Linked DNA regions of Homo sapiens: regions 1, 3, 4, 5, 6 and 7 are each linked to region 2. Evidence: promoter capture Hi-C in 16 types of primary human blood cells and fetal thymus (Javierre and others, 2016). All regions are on one chromosome and are shown on one strand. Each heading gives the region's core, a stretch centred on a gene start or on the middle of the fragment in contact. The rest is flanking DNA. Distances are from core to core; before and after follow the strand shown.

Region 1 (2,909 bases), core at 161-2,660, 970 kb before region 2:
TGTTACCTCAAGGACAAGGAGGGCTTCCCTCAAGCCAGGGAGCATAGAAGGCCTGCATCATTTGCATAGCCCCAGCCTAGAATAAAGCCTTTCCAGGACTAGGCCATTTAACTCTCTCCTGCAGCAAATATAACACCTTTGAAAGTCTACCTGGCTCTTTTCCCAACCGCCAAATATACAAAAAGCTCTACAGCCCAAACTGAGGCTTTGTGCATGCCACTTCATGGAGCATGCCTTGCATCAACAAATGGGATAGAGTTGGAAGGAACAGTAAGAGACAAATTACACACAGCACGCCCAGTGCTCCATTATCAGCACATAAATGTGTCCTTCCATAGAGACACAGCAGTGCACAAAGCTGCATGTCCAATAATATTTGCTAAATAGGAGAACTGAAAATTAGTACGTAAGTAGGCAAGTCCACAAGTAGCCAAGAGGTTGAATCATTTTTGGCACAGCCATATAATGGGATGCCAAGTGACTATCAAAAATGACTATCAAAAACTGACAAGCAAAGATATTAACTACTGAATCCTTTGAGAACATTCAGCAAAAAGAAGTCAAACTCACTAACACACAGGCTAAAAACAAAACAAAACAAAAAAATTGGAAGAAAAAACACCCAAGTATTCGCAGTGTTGTCATTTAACCAGTTCTTGAGCTCACTGTTAAACAAGAAGTACTCTGTAAAGGAGTATATAAGGTGCCTACTGCATTACAAACATTTGGTTCTAAGTAACGTGTAAGTGAAATAATTATGAATGTTGCTTAATATGATGTAATAGGCAGCTTTTCCTTATTATGACCACTTTTATAAGCATTATTTGTATTAACTGCACGATATCCTATTTACAAAGGATGGCCTGTGATCCACTCAAGTGTTTCCCCATTGCTGGACATAGAATTTGAACATATAAAATGTTCCCAAGTATAAGTTTTTCTAAACTAGCGGTTCTAAGTCTTCTGGGGTCTTGTAACTCTCTGAGAACCTCATGAAACAAGATTTCCTCTCAGATTAAAAAAAAAAAAAGGCACGCATAACAGTGAATGCAAAACATCCGCAATTTCAGGGGGTCGGAGACCCCTGCGCACCCACCTAAGGGGTCCATGCACCTGGGCTATGAGGCTGGAAGCAGAAAGGGGGCGCCAGAAAGCGCACGCCGCGAGGGCCGGCGGGAAATGTAGTCTCACGCCGGTAAAGCCACAGAGCGACGATGAGGCGAGACGTCTGCGTTCTTCTCAGGCCTGAGACCCAACCGGCCCGGGCACCAGCTCCTGCTGGACCCCAGAGCGCCTGGAAAGCTCCGGAACCTCTCACCTGCCGCCTCCTCGGGTCCAAGTGCCACCGCGGCCGCGCCCCCGGCAGCCCAGGGCGCGCTTCCACCACGGTACCGGTGGATTCGCCGTGCGCAGCCGGAAGATGGCGCAGACGCACAAAGCACACCGATGCTGCGCCATGATAGGGCCGGCGCCGCAGTGTCTTCCGGGAAACATAGTCTTTAGGCGTAAAGGCAGCAGCCCGGCCTTGAAGCCGGATCTCGCGATGTTTCAGGGTGAGCCGGACGCAGGCGTGCCTGCGCAGTGCGCGGAGGAGTGCTGTTCGTGTGTTCGAGTCCCTGGGTTGCTTCCTGGGGTCTGTGGTGCTGGGTGTGCTATCTGCGTGTGATTCTCTAGCGAGAGATTGTGGGCGAGTGACCGAGTGGGCAAGGGGCCGTCACTGTGTGTGCGTGATTTTGACAGTGTGTGGTGGTAGCTTCTGACTCCGCGTGGGTCGTTGAATGTATGACTGGGACCGTTTAGCGGTGGATACACAACTGTGTGCGGCTGTGGAAGATTGCCTCATCCGTTACGTTCCCATTTCCGTGGAACAACAGTTTTACCAGAAGGTTTCGAAGGAACCTTAAAGTTTGGAAGCGTAAGAGTTTATCTGGTAACTAATTTTAAACATTACATCTATGGTGAGTTAAATGTGGGTTATGAAGGAGAACGCAAAATAAAAACGTTATAAAGATGTAAAGGAGTTTTATGGGGCGGCATCTCTTGGGCAAATATCAGACCGCCGTAGGTAGTTGTTAATTCTCTCTTGTTTTTAGGCGGCTTTGGTGTCATCAAATGTGAGAAGCCCTGGACTTTACACATCCCGAGCCAGTGTGATCCAGTATGATTGGGAGTCCGAGTGCCAGATGCCGGTCAGGACCTGTTATGCTGGGTCTCAGAATGCGGAAACTCTCCCTGTCCGAGGTGGAACAGTTTGTCCTTGAGTGAGGACTGGAGTCCTGAGTGACTCTTTTGATTTGATCCTGTTTCCCTCAAACCTGGTGAGCTCTATGGTGTAATAAATGGTTAAGAGTGTGAACCCTTAACCATCTCTAAGACTGGAGCCAGAATGCCTGAACTCCAGTCTTAGAGATGTGCCTCGGTCTCCACATTTGAAAGTGAGGATGATTGTGGCATCTAATTCATTGAGTTGTTGGGGAGGAGTAACTGATATGTAAAATAATGCTACTGCTGCTGGATAAGGATGCTAATATGACTGAAGCTAATGCTTTCTTTCTGCAAAGATGCTTTTTCCAAAACACACCATATTGCCTCTTTACACATTCTTCAGGAGAGGGTAGAGGCTGCATTTTCCTTGTAGGTGCGGTGATGTGGTGGAAAGCACACTTTTAGAATTAGACAGATGTGGATTCAAATAGCATTTCAGCCATTTATTAGTTTCTTCGTGCCTATCTCGGTTTTGTTTTGTTTTTTTTTTTTTGTCCATAAAAGGAAGAATGTAATGCTGGGCTTGCAGCTTTGTCCTGAGGGTCAAATAAAATGATTTAATAATATAAGCAAAGCTCAGAGGTTGGTTATTGCTGATTACTGATATTAAAAGACAACTTCAGCAAGGATGGTTGAATTTCACA
Region 2 (3,253 bases), core at 281-2,780:
GCCTGACCAACATGGTGAAACCCTGTCCCTACTAAAAATACAAAAAAATTAGCCGGGCGTGGTGGCACGCGCCTGTAAAGCCAACTACTCGGGAGGCGGAGTTCAAGAATCGCTTGAACTCCGGGAGGCGGAGGTTGCAGTGGGCCGAGATCACGCCATTGCACTCAAGGCTGGGCGACAAGAGCGAGACTCCTCCAAAAACAAAAAAAAACCCACCATCCTCCTGGGCAGCAAGTCATACCCTCCCGCCGCGCCCCCTGCCCCCCACCCCTGACCCCTCTCATCCAGGCCTATAATTGCCCCAGCCTGTAAGCAGTGAGGGGTTCTGGCACTAAGCTAGTTCTCCCCATCACAGGTCTCGTGCTGGACATAAAACCTGCATTGCTGTAGAGCTGCCAACTCTGCCTTTCTTTAACCCTCGCCTTCCCTTCAAAACCTAACAGTTATTATTAATAGATTTCTGTAATTTTCATTTCACAAGTATTTTCACAGATAATTTCAACTCCCTGTAAAATGATAACTCACTTCTCAGGAAGGAGATAAGATCATGAAAGTTCACAGTTTTTATTGGGGATAATACGTTCCCTGTGTACATATACTCCAACTATGGAATGGCACAAAATGTCCTGTCAGGAAATGGCATGTATCAGTCACTCTCATTTTCAGACAGGATTGAGACTTTTAAAATAAATGTAAAATATTTCAGACATGAAGTAATAAGTATTATTAGAATAAAAGCATTGCACTCTTGGTAGGAACACAATCACTGACTCTACAGACAGTAATGATGTTTTCTTCTGGATCCAGAGGCACAGCGTCACCCTTTCAATCTACGTCGGTATCTCCTGTCTTCTTTTGTGCAAATTCCCAGCCATGTAGTCTTTCTTTGTTCTCTTGGACCAACCATATTGAAGCTTAATAAATAGAAGTCAAAGTTTAACTGTATGTGTATTTGAAAAGCAACATATGGCTGAGAGGCATGAGTAGAGACAGAGTGCCTTTGTGGTATAGTGTGTCCCTTTGGCGGTGTAGCCGTTGAGAACTTGCTGTGCTTCACAATCCGATATCATAGGTCCCTCACATTTCTGTGAGTATCCTAGACCTTACTTCAAGAAAATCTGGTTATGTCGCCTTTAAGAGCAACCCAAGCCCCGTCCTGTCCGTGGAGTCCGGCACTCTGTTTACCAGCTCCCCTGACGGTGCCACTGAGCCTCTATCCGCCATATAAGGACTGACCAACGCTCTAAGGCAAGTCCAGAAGCGGTGTCGAAACTTCATAACCCAGAAGACACTGCGGTTCTCGGCAGCGCGACTGACCCAATGAATGTGCAGGAAGGAACCTTTGCGTGCGTGCGTGCGTGCGTGCGTCCGTCCTCGTGCTCGCGCATCGTAGGAGGGCGGGACTTCCGGCGTCCTCTTGCCGTGGTTGATTTGATTTTCTCTGGTGTTTTCACTAGTTCCGGCCTTTGGCGCTCTATGACGTCACCGAAGTGACGGAGCGGAAAAGCGCGAGAAGCGGCTTGGTTCCTTGTACGCAGAGGCGGTAGTGACACAGGCACAACTGACAGTGGCAGAAGCTCAGCTGACAAGGACTGGGGACGGCGGTGTCCTTGTCTTGCCTTTGTCGCCCCCGCCCCTCTCTTCCCTGGCTGGACTTGCGGAGTCCCCGCCGAAGAACCCGAGGTGGGTGCCCCGTCCCAGGCCCCCCCCCACCTCCGCCCGACCCCTCCTTCCAGTGCTGAAGCCCATAGAAGGGGCCCTGCAGGTCAGGCCCCTTGTCTCGAAGAGAGGGGCGTTCCTGTGTGGGGTCCCCGTATCAGCTGGTTTGATGCAGCCTCAGAGCTCCCTTCGGGGATCTCAGGTTCAGAGCATGGAGGTGCTGCCAAGTGGGCCGCGTCGGGGAGCCCGGAGTGTGGGTTGTTTCTGCGGGAAAGAGAGGGTTTTGTGAATTTTCTCTTGGAATGGCAGCCTGAGCAGCCGGTATAACCATGGAAGGTTGTCAAGGGAAGACCAGTGGGAGGGGCAGGTCCAGAGTTAGAACGAGCAGGATGGGGAATTGACACAGAGAGACCCAGAAGAGGCCACTGCAGTGGATCCCAGAGGCTGCACCAGAGCCGTGGTATAAGAGGGACAATGTGATGGGATTCTGGATAGACCTGGAAGATAGAGCCAACAGGTTTTCCTGCCGTATCAGATATGTCTGTGAGCAAAAATAGGGAGTGAAGGGTCATTTTTTTTTTTTTGCCCGAACATCTGAAAGAATGAAGTTGGGGAAGTCAGCAGCATGAGAAGTAGGTTTCATGGAGAAGATCATGGGTTGGAGTTTGGCCAGTGTGATTCTCAGGCGTCTCAAGTTGAAAATGTCACATGGGTAGGGGGACAGAAAGGTGTGGAGTCTACAGAGGAGAACTGGTGTAGATTCTTCAAAAGAATAGAGGGTGGCCGGGCGTGGTGGCTCACGCCGGTAATCCCAGCACTTTGGGAGGCCAAGGCGAGCGGATCACAAGGTCAGGCGTTCAAGACCAGCCTGACCAACATGGTGAAACCCCGTCTTTAGTAAAAATACAAAAATTAGCCGGGGGTGGTGACGCGCGCCTGTAATCCCAGCTATTCGGGAGGCTGAGGCAGGAGAATTGCCTGAACCCAGGAGGTGGAGATTGCAGTGAGCCAAGATCGCGCCATTGCACTCCAGCCTGGGCGACAGAGCGAGATTCCGTGTCAAAAAAAGGTGCGGAGCGCGGGTCTCTTCCGCGGAAACTGACATTGCGTTTCCGTTGTCGGCCTCCCGCTGCAGGAGCCATATATTGAAGACCATGTCTGGAAGCTTCTACTTTGTAATTGTTGGTCACCATGATAATCCAGTTTTTGAAATGGAGTTTTTGCCAGCTGGGAAGGCAGAATCCAAAGACGACCATCGTCATCTGAACCAGTTCATAGCTCATGCTGCTCTCGACCTCGTAGATGAGAACATGTGGCTGTCGAACAACATGTACTTGAAAACTGTGGACAAGTTCAACGAGTGGTTTGTGTCAGCATTTGTCACCGCGGGGCATATGAGGTTTATTATGCTTCATGACATAAGACAAGAAGATGGAATAAAGAACTTCTTTACTGATGTTTATGATTTATATATAAAATTTTCAATGAATCCATTTTATGAACCCAATTCTCCTATTCGATCAAGTGCATTTGACAGAAAAGTTCAGTTTCTTGGGAAGAAACACCTTTTAAGCTGAATGGAGAAAATTCCAAA
Region 3 (3,100 bases), core at 266-2,765, 920 kb after region 2:
CTATACTGTTCCCTGCTATGTGTCTGGCTCTTGGTAAAATTTAAAAAAGTTAAAAATTGTTGTGGTTTGAATGCAACATTTTTGAATGGAAATCTGCTTCCCCATTTTTCTTTTTTAATAACTTTTTATTTTTTTTTTGAGACGGAGTCTTGCTCTGTCACCCAGGCTGGAGTGCAGTGGCCTGACCTCGGCTCACGGCAACCTCCGCCTCCCAGGTTCAAGCGATTCTCCTGCCTCAGCCTCCCGAGAAGCTGGGACTACAGGTGCCCGCCACCACGCCGGGCTAATTTTTGTATTTTTAGTAGAGACGGGGTTTCACCATATTGGCCAGGTTGGTCTCGAGCTCCTGACATCGTGATCCACCCGCCTCGACTTCCCAAAGTGCTGGGATTATAGGCGTTAGCCACCGCGCCCGACCTTTAATAAACATTTTAATGGACTACAACAGACCCACAGAAAAAGACACATCACAAAGTGAACACCCACAGGGAGAAGCAATAGGGCTGTCAGAGGCATTCGACCCAGAGCGACTCCATTTTGAGTGAGGGCTAGGAAAATGAGGCTGGGCTGCATTCCCAGAAAAGTAGGTATTCCTAACCTCTAGATGTTTACGGTTAAGGGAACAAATTAATAATGGGTACTAAAACAGACCCAGACTTGGGAGTGTCCAGATATCCCGGTATCTAGAGAACAAAGGCATTCCTAATTTTGCTTTAAAAATAATATCGATTCTTGAAAAATACAGTAAGAAAATTAATCCTTTTTCACAAACCCTTGTAGCAGAGCACATCTCCCCAAAATCTATTTTTAGCCCAAATATACACAAGCATTGTACCTAGGGTGCATACGTTCCTCTTACTTTCAGGAACGTCCTACTGTCTATGGGGTAGCTGTTTCACAACTTTACTTTCTCAACAAACTTGCTTTTACTTTGCACTGCGGACTCGCCCTGAATTTTTTCTTGCGCGAGATCCAAGAACCCTCCCTTGGGGTCTGAATCGGACCCCTTTCCTGTAACACAACCACCGCTCCCAGCCTCCCCGCTTCCAGCCGCTAAGCCCAAAGTCTTTTATATGAACAAACCTCTAACTCGTCCTGTGACTTTGATGCGTGTGCGTTTTAGGCACCGGGGAGCAGAGGGTAAAGCGGCGCAGCTCCGGGCCTCCTCCCGCGCAAGTTCCCGAGAAGAGCAGGTCCGGCCCGCGCAGACGTGCACGGTCCCCAGCCATTAGGAGGAGCAGACGGTCCCCACCCCCACAATCAGTCATCTCTCGGGGTCCGCCCTTGCTTCCTGCCCACGAGTGAGGCCTCTGGTTGCCCGCAACCTAAGGGGCATCGCAGCCCCGAGCAACACCGCCCCCACCAGCCTTAGCTGAGTGCTCCCATTGGCCAGAGGCCAGCGGGTGGGGGCTCCCATTGGCCATCGGCCATAATGCTTCCATTGGTCGAAGGCCAGACCAGCGGAGACTCCCATTGGCCGAGGGCTGTGGTTCGCCGCACGGCCTACTGGGAGTTGTAGTCGCCGCGTCGCCGGTGCGGCCGCCATTGTCCGGCGTTCGGCGAGTCGGGTGGTCCCTTTGGCTGGAGTGCCTCTCTGGTCTGGGGATCACCTCAGGCGCTGTCCTTCACTGGGCGATCCAGCATGGACCCCGAGGACGAAGGGGTAGCGGGAGTGATGTCTGTGGGGCCGCCGGCGGCCCGGCTTCAGGTAACAATAACAACAATAACGACGGCGGCGGGCTCCGGGCAAGCGTCTCCCGCGCAGACTGACCCTTTCACCTCGCGGCGCGATGAGAGCGGCACCGCTGTTAATGCCCTTGACACGTGGGGAAACTCAGACGCGGGTCGGGGCGTGGTGACCGTCCTGGCTGGTCAGAGAGGGGGCCGGGATTCCAACCAGGCGCCTGGCCCCCGAATGCGCATGCTCCACGCGGCTCTGTCCTCCCCAGGGCTGGGGTCGGTCATTCCCGAGAGAATCGAGCAGGCCCATCTCCTGCGTTCTGCTCCGCCCCGCCGACACCCTTGCCCATTCCAGGAAGGTCTGTCCTCGTGTTGACTGATAACAGTAATTGTAGCGTTGGCCGGGTGCCCAGATGGCAAGAATCATCGAATAGAGATGCTTTAACGCGTGGAGTCAGCGGACACCCACCGGGACCCCAGCACCGCGGAGCCCCTGCCCTGGGGCTTGGGCACAACCTCTTGGGGGCAATGATGGGTCACCACGCACTGAGTGTGATGAGAGTGACCACCAGGGTCGTCCCCTGCGAGACTGTGGGAGAACTGCAGTGCAGGGCGGTCAGTGTTTGCAGGGCCATCTGGCCATCAGAGCTCCACTTTCTAGACAAAGTGGTTGCGGCCTGTGTTCTCCATAAAGCTGCCTCGCGTGGCAGGAAACAACAATAATTATCCTTCCTCAAGCTCTGCAACTTTGAAATTATACTTTTTTTTATTTTTTGTCGTTGGTTTGTTCATGGGGATTTGCATTATTTCAGATTTGGTACACAAAGTGAGACTTGATAATCTTAGGTTGCAGGTTTTCAGATGTGTGTTGCTCCAAATTTGCATGAAATGCTACCACGTTTTATTTTGTTCTTGCTGTGGATGGGGGACAAGGAATGAGTCGTAAGAAAGGCTTGAGAGAAAGTGTATTAGTTACCTGTTGCTGTGTAACTCAAAACTTCGTGACCTGGAACAACAATAAATATCTCACGAGTTCTGACAGGAGTAATGGAATGTCCTAGCTGGTGGTTCTGGTTCAGGCCCATGAAGTTACAGTGAAGATGTCAGCATAGCTGTTGTCACCTGAGACCTGAGTCTGGAGGATCCACCTCCAGGATGGCTCACTCACATGTCTGTTGATAGGAGACCTCAGTTGTTCTCCATGTAGGCCTCTCTTTGGAACTGCTAGGGATCCTTGCAACATGGCATCTGGCTTCCCACAGAACAAGTGATCCAGGAGAGGGCAAGGTAGAAACTGTAACACCTTCCATGACCTGGATTCAGAATTCACACTCTTGTCACTTCCACGGTGTCTTACTGGTTACAAAGTCAACCTTGTTGAGTGTTGGAGGGGACCACACCAGGGCTGGAGGTCATTGGC
Region 4 (3,217 bases), core at 610-3,109, 960 kb after region 2:
GACGTGGGCATTTGTGTTCCATCTACCTTGAACTTACTCTCCCTGAGTTCTTCGCTCTATTCAGGCCTCAGCTTAAATACCAACTTCTCAGAAAAATGACTTCTTTGTTTACCATCTGCCTCCCCACACAATAACATCACCTCCATAAAGGCAGGCCATGCTTATCATCATTGCAGTATCCAATCTGCAGTGGTGCTGGCTGCCTGTTGTGGGTGCTCAGTATTTATCTGTGGAAGGAAAAGAATATATGCTCATTCCAGCTGCTAGCAGTCTGCAGGGCAAAGTCTGAGAATAATAGGGGATGTGAGCACAGGCTGGGGCCAAGAAACACCACCAGCACCACCAAGCAATCATACACACCCTGCCTCAAAAAGGCCTCACCTGAACATAGGCTGGGCCACCAACCTCTATGTATCGGGCCCCAAGCCAGAGTCTCCTGCTCAATGTCTCTTACACATACACACACACACAGAGAAGATACATTCTCACACACAGTCCAGGCATCGACTGAATCACACAATCACACTACCATTCACAGTCACCGTAACAACATCACACACAGTCTAGGGCCTTTATACTGTGTCAGGTCCACCCCATTACCTCTAAGTATCTGTCTCAGACACAATTACACCTGGTGCAGGCAAACACAGCTGCATGATTATCACATATGATGATTAAATCACAGGTCACACACACGCAGAGTAAGCACACAGAACAACCCACAAACCTGGTCACAGAGTGACTCATGCAGACAGACGCCCAGCTCAAATTCAGTAAAAAATGATACACATTTATAAAAATGATTACATGTGTTCACAGAGAGCCACACATAGCTACACTCAATACACACCCTGACATAGGCAACCACACCGCTCACCTCTCACAAAGGCACCTTCAGTACTTACACAGACACTCACACCCACAAGCCCTCAGACAGGCACCCTCTCCCCTCACTCCTAACATGGGCACCCTCACCTCTCACCCAGGTACCCTTGTTACTGGTGGAGGGTGTCCAGGTTCTTGGCATCTTGAACAAATAATTGGACAAAATGCACAAAGAAAAGAATGAAGCAACAAAAGCAGAGATGTATTGAAAATGAAAGTACACTCCACTGTATGGGAGCAGGCCGGAGCATAGGGGCTCAAGAGCCCGGTTACAGAATTTTCTGGGGTTTAAATACCCTCTAGAGGTTTCCATTGGTTACTTGGTATATGCCCTATGTAAATGAAGAGGACGAAGTAAAGTTACAAAGTGATTTACTCCATGTACGCCCTGCATAAATGGAGAGGATATTTCCTACCATAGCTGCAGTTTCCATTTGATTTACTTCTAGGAAGTCCTTAGGTTCCCTGCCTCCAGACCCGATTTTCTTGCCTCACCCTTACCCCTCACCCCTCACACAAACACCCTCAGCCCTCCCAAAGCCACCCTCAGCCTCACACAGCCGCCCTCACCCTCAGCCTCACACAGGCACCCTCAGCTCTCACACAGGCACCCTCAGCCCTCACACAGCCGCCCTCACCCTCAGCCTCACACAGGCACCCTCAGCCTCACACAGGCACCCTCAGCTCTCACACAGGCACCCTCAGCCCTCAGCCCTCACACAGCCGCCCTCACCCTCACCCTCACACAGGCACCCTCAGCCTCACACAGGCACTCTCACCCTCAGCCTTCACATTTCCCTCACCTCCAAGTCCCGCCTTTCGCGCATCGCCTGCTGCTCTCCCACTCAGCGCCACCTCAGTCCCACAAAGGCCGGGCTGGGATCCTGTGGCCTCCGTGCTGACCAACGTCAACTACAATTCCCAGCAGGCACCGCGCCTGGGTACACTTGAGCTTCCGGAGGACGCCGGGAATTGTAGTCCTGGCGGGCGTGGGCCCTTGAGGTGTGCTGGGAGCTGTGGTCCGGGTCGGCGGGCGCGCAAGTTGGCTAGTCTCTGCGGCCACCTCCGGAAGGGTCCGCCGGCTGTGCTGGTGAGGTGGGTTTCGGGGGTGTTCTCCGTCCTGATCCAGGCTGGAGAGGGGCACAGCAGGTCCAGAAGCCGCGAACCTCTGGGGCGGCCAGAGCGAGATGCGGGGTACCGCCCAGCGGGTAGAGAGTGAGAGGCTGACTAGGGGACGTGAGTAGACGGACTGCGAGTGCCGGACACACGCGCAGAGGATGTGACGGACTGACGGACCAGGCGTGGACGGACCGTGTGTGCACGGACTGACGGACCCGGTGTGGACAGACTCACGGACCGAATGTGGTGCGGAATGACACACTGAGTGCCGGACGGACCGACGGAGAATGTGTCGGACTGACGGAGTGTGTGTCGGATGGACTGATTGACCGGGTGTGGGGCGGACGAAGTGTGGAGCGGGCGGACAGATAACAGATAAAATGTAGGACCAGTGGCCTGGGAGGGTGTGGGGCGGACCCGTTTATGTGTCTGATAGGCGGTTCTGTGTCTGACACCTCTTGGGTGTGTGTATCTGACGGGTTGGAGTGTGTGATTCTGATAGGTTGAGTGTAACACTAACCATGGAGTGTGTGACTGACAGAGATGGTTGCCGTTTGAGACTTCCTACGTGGGTTGTGAGATACTGTGAGAGGGTGAGCGTGTGACGGTGGGATTTCAAGTGTGACTGATTTTCTTTGTGTGTCCTTGAGATGGTGACTAAGATTATGAATGACTGTGATCAGAATAATACTGTGTGATGGAAATGCTGCGAGGGCCTGTGTTTATTTTTGAGACGGAGTCTTGCTCTGTTGCCCAGGCTGGAGTGCAGTGGCGCAATCTCGGCTCACTGCAACCTCCATCTCCCGGGTTCAAGCGATTATCCTGCGTCAGCCTCCCGAGTAGCTGGGATTACAGGCACCGGCCACCACACTTGGCTAATTTTTGTATTTTTGGTAGAGACGGGCTTTCACCATGTTGGTTAGGCTGGCCCGGAACTCCTGACCTCAGGTGATCCACCTGCCTAGGCCTCCCAAAGTGCTGGGATTATAGGCATGAGCCACCATGCCTGGCCAGGCCTGTGTTTATTTGACTGATTATAGGTGACATTGAGATATTTCCTGTGTCTGGGTATTTTGAAGGCTGTGGCTGACAGACTGTACCTGAGATAATATGTGTTAATATCTGATTGACTGAGATTTTTATCAGGGAGACTAAAACTTGGGTGATCCACAAACAGTTTACCAAGCATATGAGAGAGGATTTGTGCTTTGCC
Region 5 (2,889 bases), core at 58-2,557, 860 kb after region 2:
GAGCCACCGTGCCCGGCCTAATTTTTTGTATTTTTTAGTGGCGACGGGGTTTCACCATGTTAGCCAGGATGGTCTCGATCTTCTGACCTCGTGATCCACCTGCCTTGGCCTCCCAAAGTGCTGGGATTACAGGCGTGAGCGACCGCACCTGGCCAATGAACTTTTTAAATTGAGACAGGGTTTCACTCTGTCATCCAGGCTGGAGTATAGTGGCAAGATCATCACTCCCTGCAGCCTCAACCTCTTGGTCTCAAGTGATCTTCCAACCTCAGCCTCCCAAAGTTCTGGGGTTACAGGTGTGAGGCATTGTGCCCAGCCATAACTTTTAAAAGATTTTCTTCCCTTTTATTTAGACATCAAGGTAAAAGTAACTTTTTTTTTTTTTTTTTTTGAGTCAGAGGCAGGCTGGAGGAGTGCAGTGGCACCATCTCGGCTCACTGCAACCTCCACCTCCTGGGCTCAAGCCATTCTCCTGTCTCAGCCTCCTGAGTAGCTGGGATTACAGGTGCCCACCACCACACCTGGCTAGTTTTTGTATTTTTAGTAGAGACAGGGTTTCGCCATGTTGGCCAGGCTGACCTTGCACTCATGACCTCAGGTGATTCACCTGTCTCAGCCTCCCAAAGTGCTGGAATTACAGGCATAAGCCACTGTGCCCAGCCAAAGGTAACATTTTTAATGTAACAATATATGGTCATTCTTTGCTCTTATGACACAATCCTACAAAAGGCGATCACTAAGCTTAAGCACTAAGCCTAAAACTGAATAATATAAACACTGATGTAGGGAAAGTTGTTCCTCAGACGACTCCATTATTGATACAGACATGGAAACAGTAAACAGAAATGTAACATCAAAGTTCTTATTTACTTGAACTTTTTTTTTTTTTGAGACGGAGTCTCCCTCTGTTGCCCAGGCTAGAGTGCAGTGGCGTGATCTTGGCTCACTGCAAGCTCCGCCTCCTGGGTTCAGGGCCATTCTCCTGCCTCAGCCTCCCAAGGAGCTGGGACTACAGGCTCCCGCCACCACGCCCGGCTAATTTTTTGTATTTTTTGTAGAGACGGGGTTTCACCATGTTAACCAGGATGGTCTCGATCTCCTGACTTCGTGATCGGCCTGCCTCAGCCTCCCAAAGTGCTGGGATTACAGGCGTGAGCCACCACTCCTGGCCTGAAATTTTCTATAATAAAAACAAACAAGATCATTTATTATCTCATAATGAAAAGTCCCTGAGGTGAGCATAGGCAATGTTGATTCAGTGGCACAAAGAGGATTCATTCCATCATGGATACTGGTTCTTTCCATTTTTCTGCTGTGCCATTCTCAGCATGTTGCCTTTACCTCCTGGGGTGGCTTCCTCATGGTGCCAGTGTGCTTGTAATTGTCCTACACATCACATACAGACATCACGGTCCAGGGGCAAAAGAAGACACATTGCTATCTTATGTCCACTTTTAAGACTGAGGGAACCGGCCGGGAGCGGTGGCTCATGCCTGTAATGCCAGCACTTTGGGAGGCCGAGGCGGGTGGATCATGAGGTCAGGAGATCGAGACCATCCTGGCTAACAGGGAGAAACACCGTCTCTACTAAAAAAGAAAAATTACAAAAAATTAGCCGGGCGTGGTGGCGGGCGCCTGTAGTCCCAGCTACTCGGGAGGCTGAGGCAGGAGAAAGGCGTGAACCCGGAAGGCGGAGAGTGCCGTGGGCCTAGATCGTACCACTGCACTCCAGCCTGGTGGACAGAGCGAGACTCCGTCTCACAAAAAAAAAAAAAAAAAAAAAAAAAAAAAAAGACTGAGGGAACCTTCCCAGGAAACCCCTAGCAGCCTTATTTCTCCTTGGCCAGAATATCCTTGCCTAATTCACACAGCAAGAAGCTTGAGTCCATTCTGATTAGCTTAGAATCCATCAAGATCCTCCCTTAGGGAGTTAGATTCTAGATTTCCCGGAAGAATCTAAAAATTGCAGGGTCGTGCTAGCCAGGTATGAAAATAAGCAAGTAAAAAGATGATGACTGTTGGGTAAAGCTATCGACAAGGTCAGCTACAAAACAGTCAAGCCAAGGAAGGCTAGTCACAGATGCACCCCAGACACAAAAGCACAGTCCAGGAGCTGAGGGTGCCTGAGCCACAGTGGTTCCCGCCTACCTGGCCTTCGTAGGAAAGTTTCCTGTGGTCTCCCTCATTGAAGAGCCAGGACGGGTCAGGCGGTGGTGGGTCTCAGACATTGAGCCCCACAACGCACTGAGACTGAACATCAGACCATTTATAATAACAGAACTCTGTCCCACAACTTCTGCAGCAATAGGTACAAAACAGAACTTGGTCACTGCCAGCCTCCCTATTTTTTTCCCTGTCCCACTTAGGAGCTACCACAGAAAGCCAAATAGGCTCGACTGAGCGATCACCTAGGACGAATCGCCTCCAGTTAGCGTGCTTCCACCTTCCACTCGGAATGCTCCAAGCAGGGCACTCCCGGGGCTTTGTTTCTATCACTAGGACGCGTCCCCACGCCCAGGCTGTCCCTGAGTCCCTGCCACAGGCGCAGATGTTGGCGGGCGCCCTTGCCCCTGAGCTCCCGGTTAACGGCCTTGGACTGTTCTCATGGCTCAGTCTTGGTCTCTCTCCCCAGCAGGGCAAGGCGCCGGGAAGGCACCCGAGATGACAGCGCCGAGCCCCATAGGCGCTAGTCCCGCCCTGGACGCCGACCGCCGCCTCCACAGTCTCGGCTTCGGTTGCTGGATGAGAACCAGCGTGGCCCGTTTAAGGGGGAGGGGACAGGCGCTGCAAGGAGCAGAGCCGCGGGAAGCAACTCCCTAAGCCACAATGCTAGTCGCGAACACAGGAAAAAGCTCATCCCGCCGCCGCGGGGCCCCATGCTCCCGCCGG
Region 6 (3,164 bases), core at 433-2,932, 950 kb after region 2:
ATCATGCAAAAATCACAGGAGCCCTTTGCACAATTTATTGCACAGTTACAACAGTCAGTGAGGCATCAGATTCCTCATACTGCTCCTGCGAAAATGCTTACTTTGACCCTAGCTTTTGAAAATGCAAATGCAGATTGTAAATGTGCATTAGCACCCGTGAGATGTACAAACAGCTTGGGAAATTTTCTCAAAGCCTGTCAGGATGTGGGAACTGAACTCCATCGTTCAACTGTGTTAGCTCAAGTAATAGCTAATTTAGTAGTGAACAAATCTGAAAAGGGCCAAGGGTTGAGCCCTAAAGTGGGAAAATGTTATAATTGTGGAAAAATTGGACATTTCAAAAAAGAATACCATCAGACCTCTGGGCAGAAGGGATCTTACAATGCAATACCGCCCCCCCCTCCCCGCCCCGCTCCCCCCAACACACACACACAGAAAAAAAAACACCAGGACTTTGCCCTCGCCGTAATAAAGGAAATCATTGGGCTAATCAGTGTTGCTCAAAATTTCATCAGAATGGCACCCCGCTCTCAGGAAATGAGAATGGGGCCTGGGCCCCTCAAACAATGAGGGCATTCCCCATCCAGGCCACAACCCTGCTACAGGGGTGGGTTCCTGGAGGAACATTGACTCCCTCTCCTCTGGAACACCGGGGAGTGCAGGATTAGATCGCTCAGTCAGAGAATGGGTCACGTTAGTTGGAGGAGACAAACCCACCAGAATTCCCACAGGCATTTGGGAACCTTTGCCAACAGGATATACAGGATTAATTTTAGGCCAAAGCCATCTGAACTTACAGGGCATTACTGTGATCCCTGGATTGTTGACTCTGATTATGAAGGAGAAATTCAAGTAATTGTAATGTCACAAGATCTTTGGGTTTTTAAACCTGGGAAATATATTGCTCAGCTATTGCTTATTATTATTCTCTGCAAATTACACCCTTCTTCACGAAAGGAGAAAAGAGGAAATCAAGAATTTGGGAGTACAACTACACAGGAAATTTACCTATCCCAACCCATAGCTTCTAATTGACCCACCTGTGCAGTGCAAATTAAAGGAAAGAAGTGTTGTGGGTGTATGGACACAGGAGCAGATGTTTCAGTAATATCCAAAAACAATTGGCCCCTGCTACTAACCTCTGCATCCTTAGTGGGAGTAGGAACAGCTCAAAGTGTTTAACAGAGTGCTGAAATTTTACTTTGTGTCAGTCCAGATGGACAGCCATGTACTTTTCAACCTTATGTTGCAAATATACGTGTTAATCTCTGGGGCTGAGATTTACTTACAGCATGGGATGTGAGACTTACAAATGAAAAGGTTGATAATCCAGGATTTAAAATATTGAAGGAAATGGGATATCAGAGTGGGAAAGGCTTGGGAAAGTTCCTACAGGGAAACCCCGGTCCGGTATCGGTAACTGGGCAAACAGATAGGAAAGGGCTAGGTCATCAGGATTTCTGATAGGGGTCATTGATACTTCTTCTCCACCCACTGCCTTGCTGCTAGAGTGGCTGACTGATAAACCTGTGTGGGTGGATCAATGGCCCCTATCACAGGAGAAAACTGACTCAACTCCATCAGCTGGTAAGAAAGCAATTGGATGCAGGACATATAAAAGTATCAGTTAGTGCTTGGAATTCACCAGTATTTGTGACCCCCAAAACGTCAGGAAAATGGCAACTGCTGCATAATTTGAGAGCTGTTAATGCACAAATTAAACCAGTGGGTGCATTACAGCAAGGTCTGCCATCCCCGGCAACCATTCCAAGAGATTAGCCTCTTGTAGTAATAGATCTTAAAGACTGTTTTTTCACTATACCATTACACAAGAAGGACAAGCCTCAATTCGCCTTCTCTGTGCCTTCTATTAATCAGAGAGAGCCTGTCTCTTGTGATCAATGAAAAGTTTTATTACCCCAGGCATGCTCAACAGTCCTACGTTATGTCAGCATTTTGTAGGAAAAGCATTGAAGGAGCCTCGGAATATGTTTTCCACCACCTACATCATTCATTATATGGATAATATTGTTTTGGCCACTCCTACAGATCAAGTATTATACCAGTTATTCAGAGAAATAAAATGGGCTTTAACTAAATGGAATCTCAAAATAGCTCCTGAAAAGGTACAAACAACCTCCTCATACCAATACTTAGATACTACTGTTACTGAAAAAAGTATTCAGCCTCAGAAAGTAGCTCTTCGTAAGAACAAATTACAAACTCTGAATAACTTAGGGGATATTAATTGGCTGCGCCCAATGCTAGGTATTGCTTCTTATCAACTCACTCATGTTTATCAAACCCTCCAAGGAGATTCTTCATTAGATTCCCCTCGGCAACTTACTAAGGAGGCAGAAGCTGAATTACAGCTTGTAGAAAGATGCTTCAGCAACGACATGCCTCCTGGCTACAACCACAAAAGTCTTTGGTTTTGTTTATTCTTCCTACCCCCCATTCTCCATCAGGACTTTTAGCTCAATTCATAGACAAAACTATAATGGTAATAGAATGGCTTTTTTTATCCAGTCAAACAGTAAAATCTTTGCAAGTTTATCTTGCTTTAGTCACACAACTTATAACAATAGGCAGGCATAGATCAAAAATGCTTACAGGATATGATCCTGATAAAATTATTGTTACCTTGGATTCCCAACAACAGGCTGCGGCCTGGGAGATGTCCACTGCATGGCAAATCACTTTCGCAGATTTTGTAGAAATAATAGATAACCATTATCCATCAGACAAAATTTTGCAGTTTTATAAAATTCACCCTTTTATTCCCCCTGTGATTGCTCATCACAAACCCATTTCAGGTGGACAGACCTATTTTACCGATGGCTCTTCCAAAAGCCACACAGCCATTTATGGACCTAAATATACTTAAATAATAAAGACCCCTAGAGTTTCAGCTCAACACTCTGAATTAATGGCAGTTATTCAAGTTTTAAAGCTCACAGCTTTATTTCCTATTAATATTGTCTGTAATTCAGCCTATGTCGTAAATGTAGCTAGTTGCATTAAAACTGCCACTATCAAGAGTGTACGGACCAGCCCCACAGGGTCGGTGGGTCTCTCCCTGTGTGCGGCGACGAGAGAGTGTAGAAATAAAGACACAAGACAAAGAGATAAAAGGCAGCTGGGCCTGGGGGACCACTACCACC
Region 7 (3,067 bases), core at 15-2,514, 840 kb after region 2:
ACGGGTGGGCAGCAGTAGTTCAGAACTAAGTAGGAAGATGGTTCTGAGGAGGTGACGTTTGAGCTCAGACCTGAATGGGAAAGGCGAACCAGGTGAAGATGTTGGGGAAGGTGAACCAGGCGAAGATGTTGGGGAAGACTATACCAGGCAGGAGGGTGGTGCACATGTGGATCTCTGGATGAAAGGCCATATTCTAGGAAAACTAAGATGGTGGCTGTGGGAGACCCCTTTAGCGTCAAGGACATGAAATAACAGGGTTTGGAACCCGGCTCCTTTGTTGCCCACTATGTTAGGCCGTTCTTAAATTGCTGTAAATACCTGAGACTGGGTTATTTATGAAGATAAGAGATTTAATTGGCTCACAGTTCTGCAGGCTGTACAAGGGTGGCACTGGCATCTGGTTGGCTTCTGGGGAGGCCTCAGGGAGCTTTTTACTCATGGTGGAAGGCAGGGAGCAGGCACATCATGGGAAAAGCAGCAGCCAGAGAGAGGAAGAAGGTGCCGCATACTGTTGTTTGTTTGTTTTGTTTTTTTTTTTGGAGACACGGTCTCACTCTCACCTAGGCGGTAGTACAGTGGTGCGATCATGACCCACTGCAGCCTCGACTTCCTGAGTTCAAGCGATTCTCCCACCTCAGCTTCCTGAGTAGCCAGGACTACAGGCACATGCCGCTACGCCTGGCTAATTTTTTTTTTTTTTTTTTTTTGTGGAGATGGGGTTTTGCCATGTTGCCCAGGCCGGTCTAGAACTCCTGGGCTCAAGCGAACCACCTACCTCAGCCTCCCAAGGTGCTGGGATTACAGGCGTGAGCCATTCTGCCCGGCCACACTTTTTTAAACAACCAGATCTCGTGTGATTAACTTAACCACCAGGAGGATGGTGCTAAGCCATTCTTGAAGGTTCACCAGGCCCCACCTCCAACACAGCATCACTTTTCAACCTGAGATTTGGTAGGGACACAGAACCAAACCGGATCATCCACTCTGCAACCCTGGGCAGGGTTCCTAGCCTATCCCAGCATGAATTTCTTTTTTTTTTTTTTCTTTCTGAGATGGAGTCTTGCACTGTCGCCCAGGCTGGAGTGCAGTGGTGTGATCTTAGCTCACTGTAACCTCCACCTCCTGGGTTCAAGTGATTCTCCTGCCTCAGCCTCCCAGGTAGCTGGGACTACAGGTGCCCGCCACCTCGCCTAGCTAACTTTTGTGTTTTTAGTAGAGACGGGGTTTCACCATATTGGCCAGGCTGGTCTCAAACTCCTGACCTTGTGATCTGCCCACCTCGGCCTCCCAAAGTGCTGGGATTACAGGCATGAGTCACCGCACCAGGCATATTTCTTTTGTGTATGGTGTACATTTGCTTCCTGGGACTGTGGGCAGCCTTCGTGAAATGATGGTACTGTCATTGATTCAAAAACTGAGTAACGTAAAGATGATCAGCAGCCTTTGGCAGATCCTCTACTTAGGGGTGTGAGATCCACAAGTCCCAGTTGGCAGCCTCAGTGGTACACTGGAGGAGACAGATGCAGAAGGTAATCCAACAGGGAGCTTAGGGGCACTGAGGGAATGATGAGAGAGAACAGGAGAGCTGAGAGCTTTCCAGACAAGGAGGAAAAGTGATGGGGTACTGTGCCCAGGGATTAGGGGAGCTGAGGGTAAGTACTCTTCTGACTTTTCCCCCACAAGCTGCTAAAAAGATCATTGCTTTTCGTTATATTTTGGACTGGTATACCTGGCTAATCAGCATTCACTGGCAAACAGCACTGTGAGGAAGACAGCTGCCTAAGGCCTGTTTGTCACCCTGGAAGGGAAGCAGCAGAGAGGTAGAAGTATCCTGAGAGAAGAAAATAGTGTCAAGAGGGAGAAAGCAGCAGCTCCCATCAAGCCCTTACCACATGCTGTGCCTGGACTTTGGTATCTCATCACTTTGGGTGAAGAAACTCAGGCTCAAGAAGTTAATCTCTCTTGATTAAACCCCTTGCTTTGAGCCTCAGTGAATTTGTTTCACAACCCATTAGACAGACAGTTGTAGGTGAGGTGACTACATTGCTACGGGCTCATTCAGTTGCTGGACTGAAAGCCATTTGGAGCTCCAGCTGATAGGGATTATGCAGCTCCACATGAGTGGGTTGGGTCAGTCATGTCTGTGGAATGAGATGGGTGGAATGAGAATCCAGTTCCACCTCTGCCTGGTGGTGAACTTAAGAGCTTCCATTTTCTCCTCCATGAAGTGGAGCAGCTAATTTCCTGCAATAGACAGTGGTAAGGATTGCCCTAAAGGTCTTGGGATAGTCTATGGGTTGACATTTGGAGGACTGAGGTGCACAGAATGAGTCCATCACTTCCTCACCAGTTTCTGGGTTTGTGGTCTCTCTGTTCACTGTGGTGTCCTTGGTTCCACAGCATGCAAAAGGTGCTTTATGATAACTGTGTACAGAACAGAGTGTGGGGCCTCATGGGTTAATAATAAAGATTAAAGCAGAAGTAAGTACATTAGAAAGGGGTGGGGTGGAGTAGAAGAATCCAACAGTTGTTTTCCTAGGGGCCAAGGCATGAAAATCCCTCGATTAAGGAATACAAAAATGAAATTTTAGAAATTTATGAAGTAACGTTTAAGATGTTTAAGTGTCATGCATGGTTACCTAAAATAGTACTGGTGGCCCAGTGCTGGTCTGCCACTTAGCCCCCCCCCAGGAAGTACAGATTCAGTTGGTGCATGTCCCATGTCCTAGGCACTTAGTCCGGTGCTGCTGGGCCTCCAGTAAATCTTATCCCCAGCTGCTTCTCAGGAAAAATTCAAGCCTTAAGAGCTGTAATTGGGCTGGGCACGGTGGCTCACACCTGTAATCCCAGCACTTTGGGAGGCCGAGATGGACGGATCACCTGAGGTGAGGAGTTCGAGACCAGCCTGGCCAAGATGGCGAAACCCTGTCTCTACTAAAAATACAAAAATTAGCTGGGCCTGGCGGTGGGCGCCTGTAATCCCAGCTGCGGCTGAGGCAGGAGAATTGCTTGAACCCGGGAGGCGGAGGTTGCAGTGAGCCGAGATCCCTCCACTGCACTCTAGCGT

Evidence for each region. The method cuts DNA at HindIII sites, captures the fragments that hold promoters and counts their contacts. A CHiCAGO score of 5 or more calls a contact.
Region 1: a contact is called between the fragment with the promoter of ZNF582 here and the fragment with the promoter of ZNF547 in region 2, in 8 of 17 cell types (naive CD8 T cells, naive CD4 T cells, total CD4 T cells and 5 more). The highest score is 16.3, in naive CD8 T cells.
Region 3: a contact is called between the fragment with the promoter of ZNF8 here and the fragment with the promoter of ZNF547 in region 2, in 1 of 17 cell types (non-activated CD4 T cells). The highest score is 5.8, in non-activated CD4 T cells.
Region 4: the fragment with the promoter of ZSCAN22 here is called in contact with the fragment with the promoter of ZNF547 in region 2 in 1 of 17 cell types (neutrophils); the score reaches 5.7 in neutrophils.
Region 5: a contact is called between a fragment that was not itself captured here and the fragment with the promoter of ZNF547 in region 2, in 1 of 17 cell types (non-activated CD4 T cells). The highest score is 7.5, in non-activated CD4 T cells.
Region 6: a fragment that was not itself captured here is called in contact with the fragment with the promoter of ZNF547 in region 2 in 1 of 17 cell types (fetal thymus); the score reaches 5.3 in fetal thymus.
Region 7: a contact is called between a fragment that was not itself captured here and the fragment with the promoter of ZNF547 in region 2, in 3 of 17 cell types (naive CD4 T cells, non-activated CD4 T cells and naive CD8 T cells). The highest score is 7.3, in naive CD4 T cells.

The regions. Positions count from the first base shown.
Region 1 is chr19:56,392,124-56,395,032 of GRCh38, forward strand. ZNF582 (zinc finger protein 582) reads right to left here and starts at 1,411. Exons shown (of 5, transcript NM_001320371.4): 1 at 1,097-1,411. ZNF582-DT (ZNF582 divergent transcript) reads left to right here and starts at 1,553. Exons shown (of 2, transcript NR_037160.1): 1 at 1,553-1,930. The HindIII fragment of the contact is 9,401 bases long and covers 1-2,909 here.
Region 2 is chr19:57,362,021-57,365,273 of GRCh38, forward strand. ZNF547 (zinc finger protein 547) reads left to right here and starts at 1,531. Exons shown (of 4, transcript NM_173631.4): 1 at 1,531-1,683. TRAPPC2B (trafficking protein particle complex subunit 2B) reads left to right here and starts at 1,531. Exons shown (of 2, transcript NM_001355204.2): 1 at 1,531-1,683; 2 at 2,795-3,253. The coding sequence starts at 2,814. The coding sequence ends at 3,236. RefSeq lists enhancers at 1,084-1,163, 1,204-1,583. The HindIII fragment of the contact is 1,910 bases long and covers 913-2,822 here.
Region 3 is chr19:58,277,440-58,280,539 of GRCh38, forward strand. It overlaps ZNF8 (zinc finger protein 8), which reads left to right and starts at 1,516. Exons shown (of 4, transcript NM_021089.3): 1 at 1,516-1,708. The coding sequence starts at 1,643. It overlaps ZNF8-DT (ZNF8 divergent transcript), which reads right to left and starts at 1,303. Exons shown (of 3, transcript NR_187495.1): 1 at 1,084-1,303. ZNF8-ERVK3-1 (ZNF8-ERVK3-1 readthrough (NMD candidate)) reads left to right here and starts at 1,527. Exons shown (of 7, transcript NR_144447.1): 1 at 1,527-3,100. It also overlaps a transcript of ZNF544 not described here. RefSeq lists enhancers at 1,592-1,641, 2,062-2,111. The HindIII fragment of the contact is 22,069 bases long and covers 1-3,100 here.
Region 4 is chr19:58,325,135-58,328,351 of GRCh38, forward strand. It overlaps ZSCAN22 (zinc finger and SCAN domain containing 22), which reads left to right and starts at 1,860. Exons shown (of 3, transcript NM_181846.3): 1 at 1,860-1,980. It overlaps LOC105372480 (a long non-coding RNA gene), which reads right to left and starts at 2,114. Exons shown (of 3, transcript NR_144444.1): 1 at 1,689-2,114; 2 at 38-227. RefSeq lists enhancers at 1,745-2,487, 1,831-2,160. The HindIII fragment of the contact is 13,061 bases long and covers 1-3,217 here.
Region 5 is chr19:58,225,936-58,228,824 of GRCh38, forward strand. No RefSeq gene overlaps it. Among named protein-coding and RNA genes, the nearest start is that of ZNF544, 1.5 kb to the right of the region's middle. RefSeq lists an enhancer at 2,855-2,889. The HindIII fragment of the contact is 1,137 bases long and covers 740-1,876 here.
Region 6 is chr19:58,307,215-58,310,378 of GRCh38, forward strand. All of the region lies in intron 2 of ERVK3-1 (endogenous retrovirus group K3 member 1), which reads left to right. The region is part of intron 5 of ZNF8-ERVK3-1 (ZNF8-ERVK3-1 readthrough (NMD candidate)); the gene reads left to right. Among named protein-coding and RNA genes, the nearest start is that of ERVK3-1, 3.4 kb to the left of the region's middle. The HindIII fragment of the contact is 5,065 bases long and covers 1-3,164 here.
Region 7 is chr19:58,200,486-58,203,552 of GRCh38, forward strand. All of the region lies in intron 4 of ZNF274 (zinc finger protein 274), which reads left to right. Among named protein-coding and RNA genes, the nearest start is that of ZNF274, 19 kb to the left of the region's middle. The HindIII fragment of the contact is 4,047 bases long and covers 1-3,067 here.